Regions from separate parts of the Homo sapiens genome. Here all the other regions are linked to region 4. Evidence: promoter capture Hi-C in 16 types of primary human blood cells and fetal thymus (Javierre and others, 2016). All regions are on one chromosome and are shown on one strand. Each heading gives the region's core, a stretch centred on a gene start or on the middle of the fragment in contact. The rest is flanking DNA. Distances are from core to core; before and after follow the strand shown. Region 1 overlaps HELB (DNA helicase B). Region 2 overlaps IRAK3 (interleukin 1 receptor associated kinase 3). Region 3 has its middle 9.6 kb from the start of HELB. Region 4 holds the start of RASSF3 (Ras association domain family member 3). Region 5 overlaps IRAK3 (interleukin 1 receptor associated kinase 3). Region 6 has its middle 7.7 kb from the start of TMBIM4. Region 7 overlaps IRAK3 (interleukin 1 receptor associated kinase 3).

Region 1 (2,802 bases), core at 103-2,602, 1.7 Mb after region 4:
GTAGTTTTTAAAAAGTTTTGAGGTGAGGAAGTTTGGAGTACTTGAAAGAAAAAGTAGTATTTTCATAATTCGGTTGAGAAAGCGCTGCTTTTATTCCAGAATGGAGTACTATGGTTGGGAGAAGGGAAGAGCTTCAGTGGCATATCTCAGATGGCCACGAGAAGGTTTATTTGGGAATGGAAAAGAATAGGGAGCTTTCTGTGTTTAAGAACGATGAGGGAAGTGTTGAGATTTTGGAACAATCTGATTTTTTGTTTGTTTGTTTTTAGATTTATTTGGTCTGTCTGTTCTGCATATTCAACCCTATAACTTTTGTGTTTCTTTACTTCCCACCCACCCCTGCCAATTTACGAGTTTTGCCCCAAAATAACTTGCTATTAATTTTTGGTTTTGTAGATTTTATAACCTGACTTTAGGAATGCCATACTTTGCTTGTAGGTCAATTATAGCTTCTATTCATGGACTCAAACAATGATGACCACAAACAAACCATGGAAATTTTCTTCGGTTAGAGTTCTGGTTGTGGATGAAGGGAGTTTGGTATCTGTAGGAATCTTCAAATCGGTCTTAAATTTATTGTGTGAGCACTCCAAACTTTCTAAGCTTATTATCCTTGGTAAGTTAAAATATTGTTGGAATTCTGATGTTTATTTCAAAGTATTGTGGTTAGTTGGTTGTTTACACCATTTAGTTGGTTGTTTACACCAGAATTGATACCAAAGCTACACGAAGATACCAAAGCTACATGAAATTAAATCTGACCACTCTCCTAATCAGCTTGGGTTGTTTTGTTTTGGCCAGGATATTAGCTGGCTGGGATGTGAATGAAATAGGGTTGTTAAGGGCTACTGCTAATCACCTAAATGATGGCTATTAAAATAGTAAAAGTGCCACAGATTCAGAGTAAATCAGGATGTGAATCATTTGGAAATGATAAAAAGTTTGAATTATAGGCCACTTAAAAGTAATTTCATAATGCTAAGCTAATAAATCAGACCTCACCAGCCTCTTAAGTCCTTCCAATTCTGATAAGATTCAGTTAGATTCTCTTGGGTAGTCATGCTCTGTAGACCATATGATTTAATGGAGAAAAAAATAAAATCACAATTGGAGAATCAAGTTGTATATAAAAATTATTATTTTTTTAGGTATTTGAGGATGTCTTTTAAGCAGTTGATTGTATTAATGGCTTAAGCCTTCTCTCTGCTTCCCCCAGTACATGTTTTTCTTATATTTAGGGCTTATTTGTTGCATGCAAAAAATATTTTTAATAGAGCAGAACATCACTATTAGATTACTGGAACGTATCTGTTATCAAATGCATTTATTTATTTGTTTTATATTTTGTACACTTATTTTATCTATTTGAGGCTGTAGATTCTTCCACTTTCAGTAAGACATTGAACATGATTGAAAAAGGGACTAACTACAAATGTCTAAGGCCTGTTTTTTTTTTCCCCTAATATGTTGACTAAAACATATGCCTGTACCCAGTTTCCCTGTGGTTATAGGTATGAAAGATGTTCTATTTAGATTTTGTCACCTTATTGTGTTATTACTATTTTTATATCTTTTACTGTTTAAATGTTGTTTTTTGTAAGGTATTTAACTTTAAACTGTTAAATAATTTTAAACAATCTTGGGGGTATTTTTTCTCAGAGTAAGTCTTGCTACTGTATCTTTTTTTCTTTTAGGTGACATTAGACAGTTACCCAGTATTGAACCTGGTAACTTGCTGAAAGATCTTTTTGAGACTCTTAAGTCAAGAAATTGTGCTATTGAGCTAAAGACAAACCATAGAGCAGAATCTCAGCTCATTGTGGACAATGCTACAAGGTATAATATTACTAAGAGTTTGCATTTTCTGTCTGTTGTATTAGAAATTTAAAAAATGGCCTTTGAATTAGAATGATTTAGTACAATACATTAACTACACCTTTTAGCAAAACTCTTCCATCCTTCAACTATAAACCTTTTGCCCTACAGTTAGAAAAGCAAAGTTAATGTTTTTCATTACTGGTCCAGTATAAGTTATTATTGAAATTTAAAAATGGATGAGGTTTCCTGATTTTAAAAGTATGTATATGAATTAAAATTGTATTAAGCTTAAGGACTAGAATAAGCCCAAGGGGAATGGAGATTTGGAAATAAGTTCATTTACGTGCAAGGGAGAATTGGGGAAGAAATATCCCCTAATTTTTGTGGGAGAAAGCTGAAGGCAAAATAATTGAATGTGGTATTTCACTCCTAGATGAATCCTAGAGGCACCCATGGCATCTTACTTCCCTTAAATAGAAAAGAACCCTTCTCTTCCCTTCGTCTTTGCATAAGCCTTTGGAGTTATCCTCTGTCAGCTCAGACATTTGGTTTCTCCATAATCCACACATATGAAAATCACAATCATTATTATTTCATGACTTTTTTTTAATACAGTCATGCGCCACATAATGTTTGGTCAACAACAGAGCACATCTATGACAGTGGTGCCATAAGATTATAAAACTATAATTTTACTGTACCTTTTCTATGTTTAAATATGTTTACATACACACAAATACTTACCATTGTGTTACAGTTGGGTACAGCACTTGGTACAGTAGCATGCTGTGCAGGTTTGTAGCCTAGGAGCAATAGGCTGTACTATATAGCCTAGATGTATAGTAGGCTATACCATCCAGGTTTGTGTAAGTACACTCTATGCTATTCACACGACGATGAACATTGCCAAATGATGCTTTTCTCAAAACATATCCCTATCATTAATCGATGTGACTGTATTAAAATCTCTAGATATAATGGGAC
Region 2 (2,840 bases), core at 312-2,811, 1.6 Mb after region 4:
GAAGGACAGGGTGGGGAAGGAAGGGGTCGGGGGGCGGTGTGGAGTCATGGTGGGAGAGTGCACCATGGCAGCCACCACAGCTATGAAGGAAGATTTGACAGGACAGAGTTCTGAAAAATGTGACTCGAAGATTTTTCTTTTTCACATGTTTGCTCCCCACCCTCCTCCCATCCTTTTCTCTTAGCTCAGTGTCCCCTAATGTTTAAATCAGAGAGACCTTCCACTTAAAATGCGATTCTGAGCAAATTGCTTAATGTCTCTAAGCCTCAATCTTCCTCTCTGCAAAATGTTAGTAGTAGAATAATAGCTTCTATCTCCTAGGGTTAAATGGCATAAGGTCCTTGACAAAGAGCACACACATCTTCAGTGGTAATTCCTATCCTGACTGGTTGAGAAGTGGTGGGAGTGGCACAGTGACAGAGGCCAAGTAGTGTGGTGGCCAATCAGTCTTTTTACTTAACACTCTTACCTCTATCGTCAATTTATAGTGTTTGAAAAGTGGACCCACTGACTAAGCTCTAGTTTAAGAAAAATTACTTCTCTGTTAATATGTTTACTGGCCAGGTGTGGTGGCTCACATCCATAATCCCAGCACTTTGGGAGGCCAAAGTGGGCCAATTACGTGAAGCCAGGAGTTCAAGACCAGCTTGGCCAACATGGTGAAACCCCATTCTCTACTTTAAAAAAAAAAAGTGTTTATTAAATATCTTGACAATCCCATTCATCTTACTTCACAAATATTTATAGAACATCTGTTGTGTGCAGAGCATTGTGTTAGACCACAGGGGGAGAGACAGTGATGATAATAGTCTTGTCCTTGAAGGTTCAACCTGGTGATCAGAAAGATAACACAAACACAAAATGTGTAGTGCAATGGTAACTATGCCCACTGAGTGGTTGGTCTGAGAAGGCTTCCTCTCGTTAGAGAGTTCCAAGCCAAGTCTTGGAAAAAGTGGGTCATTGCAGTGGATTGGTTGAAAGAAGCGGAGAGAATATTCCTGGTGGAGGCAATAATTTGTTCAAAGGAACAGAGTAAAGAATTGCCACGTATATAGTAAAAGCAAGAGAAATCAGTTGGTTGGAAAAGAAAGGACAAGGTTGGAGAATAAGATAAGGTGAGACTACAGAAGAATGAGGACTGTGGTGAGCAGGGGATGGAATGCAGCTTTGGATTCTGACTAGGCTGAGGAACTAGGTTTGACAAGCTGGGCTCTAGTGAAAGTCTGCAGCTTGTCTAGGATATAGGTGGAAACTGAAAGGTTCTAGAGTCTCTTAGGTGGTCTCACAACTTAAGAGGAGGCCAGTTCTTCCAGGTCACTATCCCAGGAACTTGTCTGGATGTGCAGAACTATAAAAATCATTTAAGCAACACTGCTAGACAGAATGCCCAACAGGTAACAAAGATACAGAGTACCCAGAGAGATCTGATCAGAAACAAGAATATTATGGAAGAGACAAGGCTTGAAATGCATCTAGCAATGTATTTTATATTTTACTTGGTGGTGGGGCTGCTGACAATTGTTGCCTTTCTGAGTGTTCCAAAGAGTTCAAGGACTTCAATGTAACCCATCCATAGAATGTGCCCACCCAGGCATGTGTCAGGGTATGGAGATCCATGGCTGTGGGCATTTGTTTGAGAACTGTGGTTTCACAAGGGCTCATCAATGTGTCCCTGCCTGTTCCAAAGCAAATCAGTCCCTTCCACGGCCATTGAACTTTTGGCCTTTCTGCTGAGCCTGCCAGCAAAGATGTTAATTAGTGCCAACTATAACAGTAGATTTCCCCCTCGTGTTTGGTGATATGCACACCTGTTCTCTAGAAGCTGGAATGAAACTAACTCAGTTCATTTGGGCCACTGAACACCTGTCAGATGGTAATGACAGTCAGTCCCCAGCAGCCTCGGCCAGATGTGATTGGCTGACCTAGATTACCCTCCTGAATCTCTTTTAAATGAATCCTCCACTGTGCTCTAAACCTAGGCCTCCCTGAGTGTTGGTCCCTCTGTGTGTAGCTCAGTGCTTTTAGGACTGAGCTGTCCAAATCCCTGCCTGTTTTGCCTTTGTCATATTAATTTTCTAAATCTATGTAAGGGAAGATAGCTTCTAGGAGGGATGCAGTTTTATTGTACGGCTTTGATAATTGGCTGAGAAAAGGACATCTCAAAATCTGTGTTAAACAGTGGCCTTTTCCCAGAGTAATTCAGGGCTCTGTTTTTATTGGAGGAGTGAACAATGGAAGATGCTGTTACCTTTATTTTCTTTTCTGTATTTGGGCTTCAGAGTGATGAGTCACAAAAGACTTTATCCTAACCCTTTGATATTATTATTATTATTATTATTATTATTTTTAAAAAGCCAAAATTTCAGCAACTTTTATTGACTACCTTTTAAAAGCCCTATGCTGCTGTTTTACAAGGCATAATAGACCAGCTCATCTGGTCAAAGCATTCTACATCATTAGTTTGAACTAACTTTTACTGAAACAGCTACAGCATCAAAAGAGTTAAGGCAAATTGGAATTCATAGAAAAGGATAAGACACTTCACACTGCATTGAAAGAAAGACAGGCCGGGCGCGGTGGCTCACGCCTGTAATCCCAGCACTTTGGGAGGACGAGGCAGGCGGATCACGAGGTCAGCAGATCGAGACCATCCTGGCTAACACGGTGAAACCCCGTCTCTACTAAAAATACAAGAAATTAGCCGGGCATAGTGGCGGGCGCCTGTAGTCCCAGCTACTTGGGAGGCTGAGGCAGGAGAATGGCGTGAACCCGGGAGGCGGAGCTTGCAGTGAGCCGAGATCGCACCACTGCACTCCAGCCTGGGCGACAGAGCGAGACTC
Region 3 (2,980 bases), core at 55-2,554, 1.7 Mb after region 4:
TAATTGTTGTTGTTTATAATTAAGGGAGGAAGTTAAATATATAAAATTGTTCTGTTTTCTGAGTGTGAAAGCATTGTCTTTGTACTCTCCAAATTCTGGGGTTTTTTTGTTTGTTTGTTTTCAGAAAAAAAACAAAAACAAAAACAGAGTCTTGCTCTGTCACGTAGGCTGGAGTGCAGTGGCACCATCTCCGCTAACTGCAACGTCAGCCTCCCAGATTCAAACAATTCTCCTGCCTCAGCCTCCCGAGCAGCTGGGATTATAGGTGCCTGCCACCACGCCCGGCTAATTTTTTGTATTTTTAGTAGAGAATGGGTTTCACCATGTTGGCCAGGCTGGTCTCAGACTCCTAACCTCAGGTGATCCACCCGCCTTGGCCTCCCAAAGTGCTGGGATTACAGCATGAGCCACCACTCACAGCCTATGTTTTCTTACATCAAAAATAAAATCTCAGAGATTTTGCATTCTTTAATGAATTCTGCATTGTGTAACACGAGTTATTACTGCATTATGGCTTTGTTTTTTAAAGGAGAATTTTCCAACTCTTTTGAAACTCCCCTGCATCTGCTGTCCATATCTTCATCACATTATCTTTCCACATTCTCCTTCCTGTCTCCCTTTCAGTCATTCTTTCCCTTTTTGCTCATCATTATTCCAACCTAGTTCTTCATATCTCACTTTTCTCCAATGCAGGATGATTTTCTCCCTTCTTGGCCAGAAGTGGATGTTGTATATGAAATCTTGTCACAAATGGAGGAAATTTCCAGCCATTTAAAATAAATCAGGAAAACAGACCTGCTGATCTGAATGTAGTTTATCTTTTGCAACAAGAGTGACTCTGTGGAATGCTCAAATATATTTCTATTCCAGAAAGTCAGTCTTCATCTATTGATGATTATAGATTGCATAAGCATAGCACTTTTCACATGTTCCCTGATTTGCATTCCTTCTATTCAATAATTCATTCCATAGCCCATACAACACAATATCTCATTGTCAATTTTTAATATCTCTACCTTGGTTTCAATCCATCATTCTATCTGAAATAGCAAAACCTCACTACAGTCATGCTCTGTGTTAGTTCATTTTTTGCTGCTTGTAACAGAATACTTAAAACTGGATAATTTATAAAGAAAAGGAATTTGTTTATAACTTAGAGTTATGGAGGCTGGAAAGTCTGAGGTAGAGAGAACATATCTGGTGAAAGCCTTCTTGCTGGTGGAGCAACAGGCGGCATCACATGGTGAGGGGACTGAACATGTTAGTTCAGGTCTCTCTTCTTCTCATAAAGCTACCAGTCCTGGATGTGAGGGTGATCTGTCTGTGACATCTGCCACCCCATTGATAGCCCGAGTTGACTTGGCTGATCTGGCCAGCTAGGCGGTTGTCCCCTTCCTCCCTCACCACTCCATGTGTGTCCCTCCCAAAGCTGTGCTCGGTGAAAGAGGATTACCATCCCTGATAGAAGAGGACTGGTCTTCGGTCAAGGGTATACGGGCAACTGCGCTCCCCTGCTAGAACCTCCAAACAAGCTCTCAAGGTCCACCAGTCCCACTCCCATGATAACCCATTAATCCATTGACCCATTAATCCATGAGTGGATTAATCTATTCACGAGGGAAGATACCTCATGACCCAATCACCTCTTAAATGATATGAAATGAATATACCTCATGACCCTCCTCACCTCTCAGTGCTGCCACATTGGGGATTAAGTTTCAACATGAATTTTTTTTTTCTTGAGATAGAGTGTTGTTCTGTCACCCACGCTAGAGTGCAGTGGCGCTATCTTGCCTCACTGCAACTTCCGCCTCCTGGGTTCAAGCAATTCTCGAGCTTCAGCCTCTCCATAGCTGGGATTATAGGTGTGTGCCACCACGCCTGGCTAACTTTTTGTATTTTTAGTAGAGATGGGGTTTCACCATGTTGGCCAGGCTGATCTGGAACTCCTGATCTCAAGTGATCTGCCCATCTCAGCCTCTCAAAGTGCTGGGATTACAAGCGTGAGCCATGCCGCCTGGCCCTCAACATGAATTTTGCAAGAGACAAATATTCAAACCATAGCACTCTCTATCCCCTTTCTCTCTTTTATCTTTGCTTCTGGTTCTCATCATCATTTGATATTACTTTTACTTGCTCCCTGGCTCCTTCTTAGGATGGATCCTTGCTCCTTCTTAGGATGGATCCTTGCTCCTTCTTAGGATGTACAAGGACTTGGTCTGTTTTGTTTACTGTTATTCTCCAGTACCCAGAACAGTAACTATCCTAAAATATGTATTGACTGAATAAATGAATTGTAGTCATCTACTTCTTAGTAATACTTTGCAAATGTTTGCTTTTTAAAAAGTTATACTTATCATATAGGATGAGATAAATAGTTTTCATAAAATGCCTAACAAAGACCAACATGATCAGCTAGAAACTGATCCCCAGCTCCATCTCTCTGTGGTAGCAGAGTTGATGCATTTTTGTTTTAGTGCTCACCTCAACCATGGCATGTTTGTTAGGAAAGGAGCTTCCAGAAAATGTATTTAGGAAAGCAATTCTTTTTCTTTTTCTTTTTCCTTTTTCTTTTCTTTTCTTTTCTTTTCTTTCATTTATTTTTTGGGTTAGGGTCTCACTATGTCACCCGGGCTGGAGTGCAATGGCACAATCGTAGCTCACTGAAGCCTTGAACTTCTGTCCCCAAACGATCCTGTTGCCTCAGCCTCCAAAGTAGCTGGGACTATAGGTTTGCACCGCCATGCCCAGCTTATTATTGTGTGTGTGTGTGTGTGTGTGTGTGTGTGTGTGTGTGTGGTGATGGGGTCTCTCTTTGTTGCTTAGGCTGGTCTCAAACTGCTGGCCTCAAGCAATCCTCCCACCTCGGCCTCCCACAACTCTGGAATTACTAGTGTGAGCCACCGTGCTCATTGGGAGGCAGTTCTTTTGTTTTTATTTTTATTTTTTGAGATGGAGTGTCACTCTGTCACCCAGATAG
Region 4 (3,064 bases), core at 398-2,897:
CACACACGGATCAGCTTAAGCTGGGTGAAACTATATGGAGTTAGAATTCCTGGCTTCCTATCATTCAGTAGCTGTGTGGCCGAGAAGAAGACTTTAATGTTGTAGGACCTTTAAAATGGGCTGTAACTCAAAGGCCCTCCTTCTGGAGTTGTTGTGAATCACGTGGGGTAATATATACTAGTTTACAAGATGGATGTGTAAGCCCGAAGGTGGAGCAGGTTTGCAAGCCTTCTTTCAGCCTAGGGACAGTAGGATGACTCATGAGTCAATTCTTCTCTCCTTCCCGTCATTTCGGGTCCAACTCTTCCTCCTGTAGTCCACAAAAGAGCACGGCTGACCGATACCAAGCAGAGAACCCAGTAGGGTATGTGACCACGTTCAGATCAACAGAACGCAAAGCAGAACGGTCCGAGTACTGCCTCCTACAGCCACTTTCCTTTCTTTAAGCCTCAGCTGCTGCTCTAGGTGTAAAACCGGCATAAAATAGCACTACGTACCTTGCAGAGTTGCTCGGAGGATTGAAGGAGATAATGTAAGAGAGTTTGGCTAGTTTGGCTATGATGGATGGACATTTTCTCTTTTCTAACGTCTCTCTTCCCCTCCTAATGAAACCTCTTCTGAAGCTCGCTAACTATAGCAGGGCTTGCAGCTTCAAAAAAACCTTTCAGTCAAGATCTTGAAATTAGTATTATTTAAATCAGTGCAGTAACACCAAGGTGTAAAAGACTGTTACCCACTGGTGGCTTTAAGAGGATTAGCTGACTGAAGAGTTTTAGAAAACATGGAAACTTTTTTTGTACGTGGATGGATGGAATTCCCTGATCTCCTTATCCCCACCACTTAAACCATGCCTTGTGGGTGACCGTGGAAGGCTGATTGTGGCGGGGACATTTACAAAGCACATTTAATTGATAAGCACTCGATTGTTCTGTAACTATAGAACTAGTTCACCTTTCAGTTGCACTGAGTGCGCCTAAGATAACGATCTTATTTGGAAGTGAGCCCTCGCTAGAAAGAAGGGGAAAAGGGTAAGACCGAAGCTCAAATGAATGACCAGAAAGGATGTTTTCATTCGAATAAACTCAACCCAGTTTTTGACCTCCCCACCCATCTCTGCCAACTTGAAATCCTCCTGGAGGGGCGAGCTGCTGGGGTTCAGGACTGGGCGTTGCGGCTGCAGGAAGCCGTGGGACCTGGGGGGTCCCTCGGCCGGGCAACCCCCACCCACCCCTACAGGACCCTGGTGCGGGGGCGAGCAGGGAGTGGACGCAGAGAAAGTTCCCCGCTCTGCTCCCGCCCTCTCCGAAACTCGAGCCAGCGAGGCTGGGGGCGGGCGGACGGCTCGCAGAGGAATTTGCAGTTTCCGGGAGGTTGAGGAAGCGACCCGAGCACAGCCCCAGCAGACGCAGCCCTAGCGCCCGGCTTTCCGGGTTCCGCGACGCTGTCGGGAGAAACCCGCGCGCCTGGAAGGGGCGGGCCGGGCTCCCCCCACCTGCGGGCGGGCGGGGAGGGTCGCGGCCGCGCGGGGTGGGGCTCGGCCGGTCGCCCGTCCGGGGCGGGGCCCAGGGAGGCGGGGTCGCGGGCGCACCGGGGCCGAGCCGCGCCTGGAGCCTGGCGGGGAGGCGGCAGGAGGGGCCGGGAGAGCCTGATTGAGCGGCGGCCGCAGCTGCATAAGGACTGCCCGGGGCTGCGCGCCGGGAACCTCGCGGGGCTGGCGGGCGCCGCACCCCCTCCCTGGCCGCCTGCGCCCCGGGGAGGCCGCCCGCGCGCGACGGGACCGGCAGCATGAGCAGCGGCTACAGCAGCCTGGAGGAGGACGCCGAGGACTTCTTCTTCACCGCCAGGACCTCCTTCTTCAGGAGAGCGCCCCAGGGCAAGCCCCGCTCCGGCCAACAAGTGAGTGGCGCGCGGCGGGCGCTGCAGCCCGCGCCCCAGAGTTCCGGGGAACCCGCCAGCCCGCGCCCCCTGCCTCCACGTGTCTCTGCGGGGCGCTCGGGGGATGCTCGCCGGGAAGGAGGAGCGGGCCGAGAAGTGGCTTCTGCCTTTTCGGGTCCCGGGAACGTGCCTGGAGCTTGTGCGTGTAGGCGAGGGAAGGCGGAGGAAGGGCGGGGAGGCTGAGGGCCGGCTTCTGCCTTCCGCGCCAGATGGCCTCTGCAGCTCCGCCTCGGGCTGCCGCCTGCGGGGAGCAGCCCCGGAGCCAGCAGGCGTCCCCGGGCCACTCCCCCAGGTTTCCCCTTCGCGTCCCCGCTGGGTCGACGGTCGGGTTCGCGCGCCTGTCCTTCCTGTTAGTCAGCTTACTCATCTGTGGCCCCCAGAGTGGCTTGGGTCAACGTGTAATAGCTAGGGGTGGCCGGGTGACCTGACCTCCCCTCTTCCTGGCCCGGGCGACCTGGTGGAGTGGGGGTCCAAGGGCACCGTGGGCCTCGCCACCATAGGCTCTCACTAAATCTCCGTTGCGGGACTCAGGGTTGTGCGTTTTCTGTAAAGCTAGGTTTTTTGGTGCCCAGATGTTTTGCAAACAAGCTCCTATGCTAAATACTAGCCAGCGACAGCTAACCTTTTCGCCGGTTTCTTCCTTTTTTGGAGGCAGCATGCCGTGGGAAGCACGAGTTGGGAAAAGATGGGAAGGGAACTTGTGCCAGTTTCGCCAGCTGTAGCCGTGTTTTTTGGGAGGCCTTCCCGAAACGGGGCACGTCGGCTGGACTGAGGAGCCCGGTGCTAGAGCCCGCGGCCTCCTGGCACTAGGAGCCGCACCAGGGGAGCCGGGCCAACCCGGCCACGCTCACATCAGATTACAGAAGATTGTAATGGCACAAATTTGTTGCTTTTAGAAAACAGGCGTTCGCCAAACATTTCTATTAATACCGGACTGAGACCTAGAGACTAGAAGCAAGAAGAATCGTTCAGGGGCCGGATGATAACTTCTTTTGGTGGATGTGGGAGGGTGCAATCTGTCAGGGTGGTCTTGCCAGACCTCTTAAGTTTAGCCACTTTCTGAAGTAAAATTCTTTCTAAAATTCGGAAGTTCTAGTCTTTTCAGGCTCTTAAGTCCCAAACCAGGAGG
Region 5 (2,921 bases), core at 348-2,847, 1.6 Mb after region 4:
TGTTTTGAATGACAATCTCTATGTTGGGACCAAGGGATATGCACTTTAAAAGAGCTCCCTAAAACTTCTGGCATTTAGTCAGGGGCCCTGGCTCACGACTGTAATCCCAGCACTTTGAGAGTCTGAGGTGGGTGGATCAGCTGAGGTCAGGAGTTTGAAACCAGCCTGGCCAACATGGCGAAACCCCATCTCTACTAAAAATACAAAAATTAGCTGGGCATGGTGGCACGTGCCTGTAATACCAGCTACTTGGGAGGCTAAGGCAGGAGGATTGCCTGAACCTGGGAGGCGTAGGTTGCAGTTAGCCGAGATTATCCCACTGCGCCACAGCCTGGGCAACAGAGTGAGACTCCATCTCAAAAAAAAACAAAACAAACAAACAAACAAAACAAGAACAACAACAAAAAACTGGCATTTAAGAATTACAGGTTGGGCCCACCATTTCCTTATTCCCTTCCAATCTTCCACATATTATGGTTGAAGTAAAAAATGTAGAGACTTGCCCAAGTTCACAAAGCTAGTTGGTGGCAAATCTGAGGCTTAAGTCAGGTCTCTTGGTATTTACTTTAGTGTAGTTTCTTTTATACCTGGTTTTAAGTCACTTAATTTACTCCTCAAAATAAAGGGCGTTAGCTAATCTTTAAGATCCCTTCTAATTCAAAATTCTATAGCTGAACTAATTTCATGAAAATGAAAGAATATTCTTTATAGGTAGAGTGATAAAAGGTAAAAGGAAAGATTATTCAAACTTAATTTAATGTCTGTTTGCTTCTTTGTTATTAGGTTTTAAATACTCTTGAAAGTACTCAAGCCAGCTTGTATTTTGCTGAAGATCCTCCCACATCACTAAAGTCCTTCAGGTGTCCTTCTCCTCTATTCCTGGAGAATGTACCAAGTATTCCAGTGGAAGATGATGAAAGCCAGAATAACAATTTACTACCTTCTGATGAAGGCCTGAGGATAGACAGAATGACTCAGAAAACTCCTTTTGAATGCAGCCAGTCTGAGGTTATGTTTCTGAGCTTGGACAAAAAGCCAGAGAGCAAGAGAAATGAGGAAGCTTGCAACATGCCCAGTTCTTCTTGTGAAGAAAGTTGGTTCCCAAAGTATATAGTTCCATCCCAGGACTTAAGGCCCTATAAGGTAAATATAGATCCTTCTTCAGAAGCTCCAGGGCATTCTTGCAGGAGCAGGCCAGTGGAGAGCAGCTGTTCCTCCAAATTTTCCTGGGATGAATATGAACAGTACAAAAAAGAATAAATTCTACCAGAAGATAAAGAAAAAAGCAAGTATTGCATAGGCACCTGAGCATAGGTATGACCTTGGGAAGACATTGGCTCCATAAGCAATGCCAAGAGAATGATCAATAGTGAGTTTGGGTGATGCAGATAAACAATCTGGATAATTCCATTTCTTTTTTCCCAAACCCTCAAACAGAGTGCCTTAAAAAATTGTTTTATCAGGATAATTGTCTCATGACCAAATCCACGCTCAATTAGAGCCATTCAAAATTCCTTAAGATCATGGGTTCTGACTTCAGCCAAACAAAACAATCAAAACCTACCAAAAAGGGACTGGATTGTAATGTCCTCTCCATCATCCTCAGTGTGAGTCCTCAGAGCCTCCATCTGCCAAGAACATTCAGTTGGATTCCATCGTTTGGTTTAGCTTGCTTGCACGGGTTGTAGGAAATGTCTAATTTGTAAATGTTAATAGATACCTTTGGAAAGAATCACCTTGTTATTCTGATTGACCCCTCTTGTTTTTTGGTTAATCCCTGACTAGCCTGCTTGTCTGAAAATGAGCCAGGTTCACCCTTAGCTACGGCATGCTCTGGGTTGAAAGGGGATTTCTTCCCAAGATCTATCCTAAACTCTTAGGACAGTTTATCCTGTATTGACTATTATTACAGCTTTTTAAAAACAGACTTAGTGACCTATTATATCTTAAGGAGACTATGTGAAATGTCCATCAAGTAATTTTTATTCCTGAGAAAATGGCTGGTCAAGGGCCTAGGTCAGCTTTTTGTTTAATCTACACCTTTCAACTCTGGGCCTTCATTCCTGCTGTTTCTTGGATCTCCCTCTTTTGAAATCCTACCAATCATCAGAGCTCTACAAAACAGCCACCTCCTGGAAGCTTCCCTAATCTCTACAACCAGAAGTACTCCCTTTATCAGTATTTCCACAGCAATTTCTTTGTATTTCTATTTTATATTTATCACTTTCTGAATTATATCAAAGCTGCTTGTCTTATCTCTTTTTTTTTTTGAGACGGAGTCTCGCTCTGTCATCCAGGCTGGAGTGCAGTGGCACAATCTCGGCTCACCGCAAGGTCTGCCTCCCGGGTTCACGCCATTCTCCTGCCTCAGCCTCCCGAGTAAAGGTGGGACTACAGGCGCCCGCCACTACGCCCGGCTAATTTTTTGTATTTTTAGTAGAGACGGGGTTTCACCATGTTAGGCAGGATGGTCTCGATCTCCTGACCTCATGATCCGCCTGCCTGGCCTCCCAAAGTGCTGGGATTACAGGCGTGAGCCACCGCGCCCAGCCTTCATCTCTTTTACTAGGTTGTAAACTCCCTATATTAGTTTTCTATTGTTTTTGTAACACATTATCACAAATTTAGTGACTTAAAGTAACATAAATTAATTATTTTGCAGTTCTGGAGGTCAGAATTCCTTAGCATTCTTTCTGGAGGCTGTTGGGGAGAACTCACTGCCTTGCCTTTTCCAGCTTCTAGAGGCCACCTGCCTTCTTTGGCTCATGGCCTCTTCCTCCGTCTTCAAAGCCAGCAACGTGACATTTCAGATCTCCCTCTCTCTGTCTGTCTCACCGCATCTCTTCACTACCCTCTTCCTCTCATTCTGGCCCTTCTGCATGTCTTTTATAAAGACCTTTGTGATTTCACTGGGCCCACTC
Region 6 (2,752 bases), core at 253-2,752, 1.6 Mb after region 4:
CAAAGTTGAACACACACTGCAAGTTCTATTACTTGGCAGTTCTACTCCTAAGTAGAGTATGTGTCCAATAGAAATGCATGCACAAGTTTACAAAAGACATAACCAAGAATATACATAGCCACATTATTCTTAATAGCTAAAATCTAGAAACAACTCAAATTGTCCACTATTGGAAAAAATGAATAAATTATATTCATATAATCACATACTTTATACAATTAAAATGAACAAATTGACATGTTCATGGATGTAGCTTACAAACATAATGCTAAGCAAAAGAAATCAAATGCAAAGAATATATAGAATAGTATAAAGAATAATGTAAAGCTGAAAAGCAAACAAAAGTAATCTATGGTCTTACATATCAGGAAACTGTTTATCTTTGGGGAGGAGGAAGGCATAATCATCAGGAGGAGGTACTTAGAAGGAATTCCAGGATTTCAGTAATGTTCTGTTTCCTGGCTGATTACATAACTTTCACTTCTTGATAATGAGGCAAGCTGTTTATACTTAGGATTTGTGTATATTTTATACTTAAATTTGTATATTATACTTAAATTTTAAAAATTGTCGTAAAAAAGTGAAAAAGTATTTGCTCCCTCTCAGTTTAGATAAGAAAGCTATCTTATGAAAATAAAGCATTTACTTATAGACATGAAATCCAATAACTCAGTAATCTAATGCTTCTCTATTTCTTTTAAAGCTGCAATTTCAAGGAAAGTGCTTTGTAAATAACATCACTAATCCAAAGGAAATTTTATTGATTTTTAAAGACCTATCTGCATGCTTCCTCTTCCCTCTAACCATCTCTTCATCATTCTCACCTCCTTTTCATTTGTGTTTGCTCTCAAACCCCAAGCTAAAACATCTTCTGGACTATTCTCAAACTATGATTCTGTCCTTATTTCTGGATTGCCAGACAACACAAAACGTTTTTGTTTTTGGCTTTTGGATATTAACCTACATTCAACATTAAAGGTCCTGGAGATGTGAGTTGCAATTATCTTTAAAATTGTTTTATCTTTAAAATTTTATTTACAGCTCAACTTTAGTGGCCAGAGTAGTGGAGATTTGTAAGGCTCGTGGATTACTTAAAAAGAGCAAGGGCATTTACAGCCAAATAAACTAGAACACATTGATGTTCTGGGAGGGTGGAGCATCTGGAAAGGGCATGGAAGCTGCATCCTGGGTGCCCTTTCAGACCTTGCAGCCCTATCTCTTTATCTTGCTGTTCATTTGTGTCCTTTATAATAAAATGGTAATAATAAGCATAGCACTTTCTGGAATCCCGTGAATTGTTCTGGTGAGTTATCCAACTTGGAGGGAATCATGGGGACTCTCAAATTTGTATTTAGCTAGGCAGAGATGCAGATAGCTTAGAGATACCTGAGTCTTGTAGCTGGCATCTGAAGTGGGGGCTGATTCATGGGACTGAGACCTTTACTTGTGGGGTCTGCATTAACTCTGGGTAGTTAGTGTTAGAAATTATGGACCTTGTCCTTAACTTGTGGAATCTGTCAGTAGTGTTAGAATTGGGATGAATTGCAGGACACCCAGTTGGTGTTGGAGAATTGTTGTCAGAACATAGCGTGTAAAGTAGTAACACGGTGCCTAGCAAACGGTGAGTGCTCACTAAATGATAGTTGTAATTATTATTGGCTGAAGGCAAGGTCATCACTTCTTTCATTGATTAGACATTTATTGGGAAGTTACTCTGTGCCAAGCAGCATGCAAGGTACACAGAGATGACTGACTCCTCTGCTACACACCAATGCTCCACAAGCCCACAGGAAAACAATACCAAAAAAAGAGTTCTGATGGAAAGTAGTACTGAATGTTATGGAACCTAGAAGAAATGATTAACTCTGGGGAGATTATAAATGATTTCATGGAGATTATAAAGTGTTTCAGTTACCTAGGGCTGCTGTAACCAGTTACCACAAAGAGTGACTTGAAACAACAGAAGTTTCTTCTCTCACGGTTCTGGAAGCCAGAGTTTGAAATCAAGATGTCTGTGTATGGTTTATTCCTTCTAAAGGCTCTGAGGAAGAATCCGTTCCACACCTCTCCCAGCTTCTGGTGGTTGCCAGCAATCTTTGGAGTTCCTTGGCTGTGGCTGCATCATTCCCATCTCTTCCTCAGTTGTTACATGGCCTTTTCCTCCTCTGTGTCTCCAAGTCCAAATTTCTCTCTTCTTATAAAGTCACTAGTCATTGAATTAGGGGCTACCCTAATCCAATATGAGCTTGTCTTAACTTGATTGCATTTGCAGCATCCCTATTTCCAATTAAGGTCACATTCAGAGGTACTCAGGGTTAGGACTTAAACGTACATTTTGGGGGTAAACAATTCAACCTGCAACACAGAAATGGTGGCTTTTCAATTGAGTAATAAAGGATAAGTAGGGGTTCACCAGGTAAGAGATACTGCAAAACCTCAAACATGAAGTAACAAACAAATTGGAAAAGACCCAGACACATATCAGAAATACTACAGAAGAACAAGATTTGGTGACTTATTAGATATAGGTACCTACTACGAGGTGCTCAGTAAATCCTTCTGAAGATAGTATTAATCAGTCAGTCAAAATTACTCAGAGTTACCTTGGCCCATGTGACCAGAAACAAGGAAGTTGATTTTCTAGGAAACAATCAGTTTGGGACATGATGATTTGAGATGAAAGCAAGAAATCCAAATGAAATTTTTCAATAAATGCAGGAGGTGAGAAGAGAATCTGCAGGGCAGGTTAGGG
Region 7 (3,121 bases), core at 315-2,814, 1.6 Mb after region 4:
GTAAATTCAATCTATATACTACTCCCAAATTTCTAGCCCAAGTCTCCCTCTGGAATGTCATCTTCATCCATCTATTTGCCTATTTGACAGACATCTCCAATTTAACAGCTCAGAAATGCTCCCCCAGCCCTCCCAAAGTTTTCCCATCTCAGTAATGGCAGTTCCATTCTTCATTTGTTCAGGCCAAAAATATTAGCCTTTTGTGACTTGTCACTTTCTCTCACAAACCACATCCTATCTCTCAGTAAATAATGCTGCTGACTGTGCCTTCAGGATCTGTCTAATAATCTGACCATTTCTTACCACTGCCACCGTAACCATCTTGGCACCAACCACCATCGGTTCCCACCTCTACTATTTTAGCAGTTGGCTGACTGGGCTCAGACTCCCTGCTACTGCCCTTGACCTCCTTGAGTGTCTTTTCAGCCCAGCAGTCGGCAAGCCTGTGATGCCTGTAAAGCATATGCTATCATTGCCCTATTCAGAACCCTCTGGCGGCTTCCCAGGCCAGTCAGAGCAAACCCTGAAGTCCTGTGTGGCTTTTCTCACTTTCTTCTCCCTCTTGTTTGCTTGACTCCAACCACATTAGCCTCCTTGTTCCTTGAACACGCAAGGAACGTTCTTCCTGCCAGTAACCTGTAGGCTTGCTTCTTCACTTCCTTCATGTTTTTGTTTAACTATTACCTACTCTGACCACTCTTTTGTTTTGTTTTGTTTTTTTAAGACGGAGTTTCGCTTTTGTTGCACAGCCTGGAGTGCAATGGTGCAATCTTGGCTCTCTGCAACCTCTACCTCCCGGGTTCAAGAGATTCTCCTGCCTCAGCATCCCGAGTGGGATTACAGGCGCCTACCACAAAACCAGGCTAATTTTTTGTATTTTTAGTAGAGACGGGGTTTAACTATGTGGGCCAGGCTGGTCTCGAACTTCTGGCCTTAGGTGATCCACCCACCTCGGCCTCCCAAAGTGCTGGGATTACAGGTGTGAGCCACCACACCTGGCCATGGCCACTCTTTTAAAATTGACACCCCCCCCCACCACTCTCTTATGCCTCTTTTCCACTTTATTTTTCTCTATATCATTTATCACCTCTCACATACTTTATGTATGTAAGTATCTCTATGTATATATAAAATAAACTATATATATATGTAAACATATATATGTTTATTTGTTTATTCTTCATCTAGAAATAAGCTTCAAGGGAGCAGGGATATTTCCTTCCTTTGTTTCCTGCTGACTCTCTTAGCATCGAAAATTGTACTTGGCACAGAGCAGGCACTCAGTAAATATGTACATTCTGAATAAATTAATGAATCAACAAATGTCTATTAAAAACCTTGTTGGGTTGTCTATTAAAAACCTTGTTGGGCAGAATCTTTGATAAAGCACTGTAAATACAATGTCCTAGTCCCTGCTTGTAAGAATTTTCCAATTTAGTGTAGGCAACAGACCTATAAAAGTTTAACAAGGGAAGAATGTGTGGGGAAATAGTATTGATATTCACCTGGGAATGAAATTACATAGCTTCTGACTGAAACCTTGGTGTTGAGGGTGAATTATCTCCCAGAGGTAGTTAATGTTAGGTTCCTACCTGTGTCTAGGATTAAGAGAGCAGGACAGACAGAGGGGCACCTGAGAAGTCACACACAGCCCTCCGCAGTTATGAGTCCTACTCAGGCATGGGGTAAAACATACACATGAGCTTAAGTATGAATAAGAACTATTTCTTATAAAATATATTAACTAGTAAGTGTTAATGCTAACAGTCTGGTATGAAGAATAGATCTAACTTATAATTTTGACTTTTGTTTTACTCTTTTGGAATTAAAAATGTCTTTAACCTTAAAAGTTCTTTTAAAAAATTGTCTAATTTTTTGCATGCTTTGTAGAAAGAAAGAGACATCTTTCCTTTTTCCCTTACAGTGTCTAAAAACAAGCTTTGTGAGAATGGAGTCTTAATTTTGCAGGGGTTTTGGCATGTGGTTGTATGCAAATACAAAGATTCCAAATACGGATGTGTTGCATTATTTGAAAAAACCCCTTCAGAGACATATTTGCATATGGAGACGTGATTTCTGCAACTGAAAACAGTCAGTCCTGCACTCTCAAAACAGCCTTCAAGGACTTTTGAGCATCTGATTTCTGAACTTCTTAGGTTGACTTTTTGGCTTATGTGACTCCAATACGACTTTCAACAAAGATTTGTGTTCCAAAAAATGGTTTTAAACAATGCTTAACTAACAGCATGTTTTTCTTAATTTGTATTTTCAGTTTAGAATGCTTTTAACTTTATCAACATAATTAGTCATTGAGAACTTTTCTCTGTATTTTTATTTGATATGTACTGCGAGTAAACAAAGTCCTATATTCTGAAAGGGGACACGTAAGGGAGAGTTGAAGAAAATGATAAATATTGAAGAATGTAATTAACATGTTGAGAGTTTGCATTCCTGTTGTATCAGATTGGAGCTATTTTATAGAATTGGATCTAAATGAAGTATACATTTTATGGATGCTAAAAATACTCTTTAGCAATGTTTCTATTCAGAATGCATCATCATTAGAGAAAAGCTATTAAGGTTGCAGTGTGAATCACCAGTTGGAAAAAGAGAAAACATATTTCATTTCCAGTCCGGAAGCAATCCATGCATGCAGGCAGTATTCATTTTAACAGTCTGGATCAGTTTTTTACCATGAACTTCTGCTATTAGAAAAAATGCCTTTGTCTAATCTAGCTTTCCTTAGATGTGATGCAAACTCAGAACTATATGCCCCGGTCAATGTTAGAGACCCTAAAACCCCAGCTCATTTGGCATCTGTTCATTCATATTCCAGCTGAATCTCAGAAATGTGCTTAAGGGAAAGCATCTGATATTAGCAGTTTCTCAGCCAAGTCACAGGACGGGACATCCCAGAGTCATGGCCTGCTGCACTTTTAAAAGGGAAATTCAGGAATCAAAAAAAAAACAAACAGAGAATGGAATTTATGGAAAGTATGGAATGAAAAGCTGACATTCCCTGGGACTTGAAATGTTAACTCTGGATTTCCTTAATAGCTATAAACTGTGCCTTTCCTACTGTGGCAATTGTTGTGAGCTAGAACATGTTTATACCTTTTTA

What was found. Contacts are between HindIII fragments. The CHiCAGO score rates a contact against its expected background, and 5 or more counts as called.
Region 1: a contact is called between a fragment that was not itself captured here and the fragment with the promoter of RASSF3 in region 4, in 1 of 17 cell types (non-activated CD4 T cells). The highest score is 8.8, in non-activated CD4 T cells.
Region 2: a fragment that was not itself captured here is called in contact with the fragment with the promoter of RASSF3 in region 4 in 1 of 17 cell types (neutrophils); the score reaches 5.7 in neutrophils.
Region 3: a fragment that was not itself captured here is called in contact with the fragment with the promoter of RASSF3 in region 4 in 4 of 17 cell types (non-activated CD4 T cells, total CD4 T cells, naive CD8 T cells and 1 more); the score reaches 8.5 in non-activated CD4 T cells.
Region 5: a contact is called between a fragment that was not itself captured here and the fragment with the promoter of RASSF3 in region 4, in 1 of 17 cell types (neutrophils). The highest score is 5.1, in neutrophils.
Region 6: a fragment that was not itself captured here is called in contact with the fragment with the promoter of RASSF3 in region 4 in 1 of 17 cell types (monocytes); the score reaches 7.1 in monocytes.
Region 7: a fragment that was not itself captured here is called in contact with the fragment with the promoter of RASSF3 in region 4 in 3 of 17 cell types (total B cells, monocytes and neutrophils); the score reaches 10.5 in total B cells.

Annotation. Positions count from the first base shown.
Region 1 is chr12:66,313,548-66,316,349 of GRCh38, forward strand. HELB (DNA helicase B) reads left to right here. Exons shown (of 13, transcript NM_001370285.1): 5 at 439-616; 6 at 1,695-1,836. Among named protein-coding and RNA genes, the nearest start is that of HELB, 12 kb to the left of the region's middle. The HindIII fragment of the contact is 1,502 bases long and covers 602-2,103 here.
Region 2 is chr12:66,230,672-66,233,511 of GRCh38, forward strand. The region is part of intron 8 of IRAK3 (interleukin 1 receptor associated kinase 3); the gene reads left to right. It also overlaps the pseudogene RBMS1P1. Among named protein-coding and RNA genes, the nearest start is that of MIR6502, 19 kb to the right of the region's middle. The HindIII fragment of the contact is 7,657 bases long and covers 1-2,840 here.
Region 3 is chr12:66,291,381-66,294,360 of GRCh38, forward strand. It overlaps the pseudogene RN7SKP166. Among named protein-coding and RNA genes, the nearest start is that of HELB, 9.6 kb to the right of the region's middle. The HindIII fragment of the contact is 9,012 bases long and covers 1-2,980 here.
Region 4 is chr12:64,608,848-64,611,911 of GRCh38, forward strand. It overlaps RASSF3 (Ras association domain family member 3), which reads left to right and starts at 1,648. Exons shown (of 5, transcript NM_178169.4): 1 at 1,648-1,896. The coding sequence starts at 1,786. RASSF3-DT (RASSF3 divergent transcript) reads right to left here and starts at 619. Exons shown (of 2, transcript NR_187549.1): 1 at 498-619. RefSeq lists enhancers at 188-237, 458-517 and silencers at 1,148-1,217, 1,378-1,897, 2,108-2,177. The HindIII fragment of the contact is 11,544 bases long and covers 1-3,064 here.
Region 5 is chr12:66,246,912-66,249,832 of GRCh38, forward strand. It overlaps IRAK3 (interleukin 1 receptor associated kinase 3), which reads left to right. Exons shown (of 12, transcript NM_007199.3): 12 at 784-2,921. The coding sequence ends at 1,260. Among named protein-coding and RNA genes, the nearest start is that of MIR6502, 2.7 kb to the right of the region's middle. The HindIII fragment of the contact is 1,079 bases long and covers 1,059-2,137 here.
Region 6 is chr12:66,176,304-66,179,055 of GRCh38, forward strand. No RefSeq gene overlaps it. Among named protein-coding and RNA genes, the nearest start is that of TMBIM4, 7.7 kb to the left of the region's middle. The HindIII fragment of the contact is 3,272 bases long and covers 1-2,752 here.
Region 7 is chr12:66,194,956-66,198,076 of GRCh38, forward strand. The region is part of intron 1 of IRAK3 (interleukin 1 receptor associated kinase 3); the gene reads left to right. Among named protein-coding and RNA genes, the nearest start is that of IRAK3, 7.3 kb to the left of the region's middle. The HindIII fragment of the contact is 743 bases long and covers 1,194-1,936 here.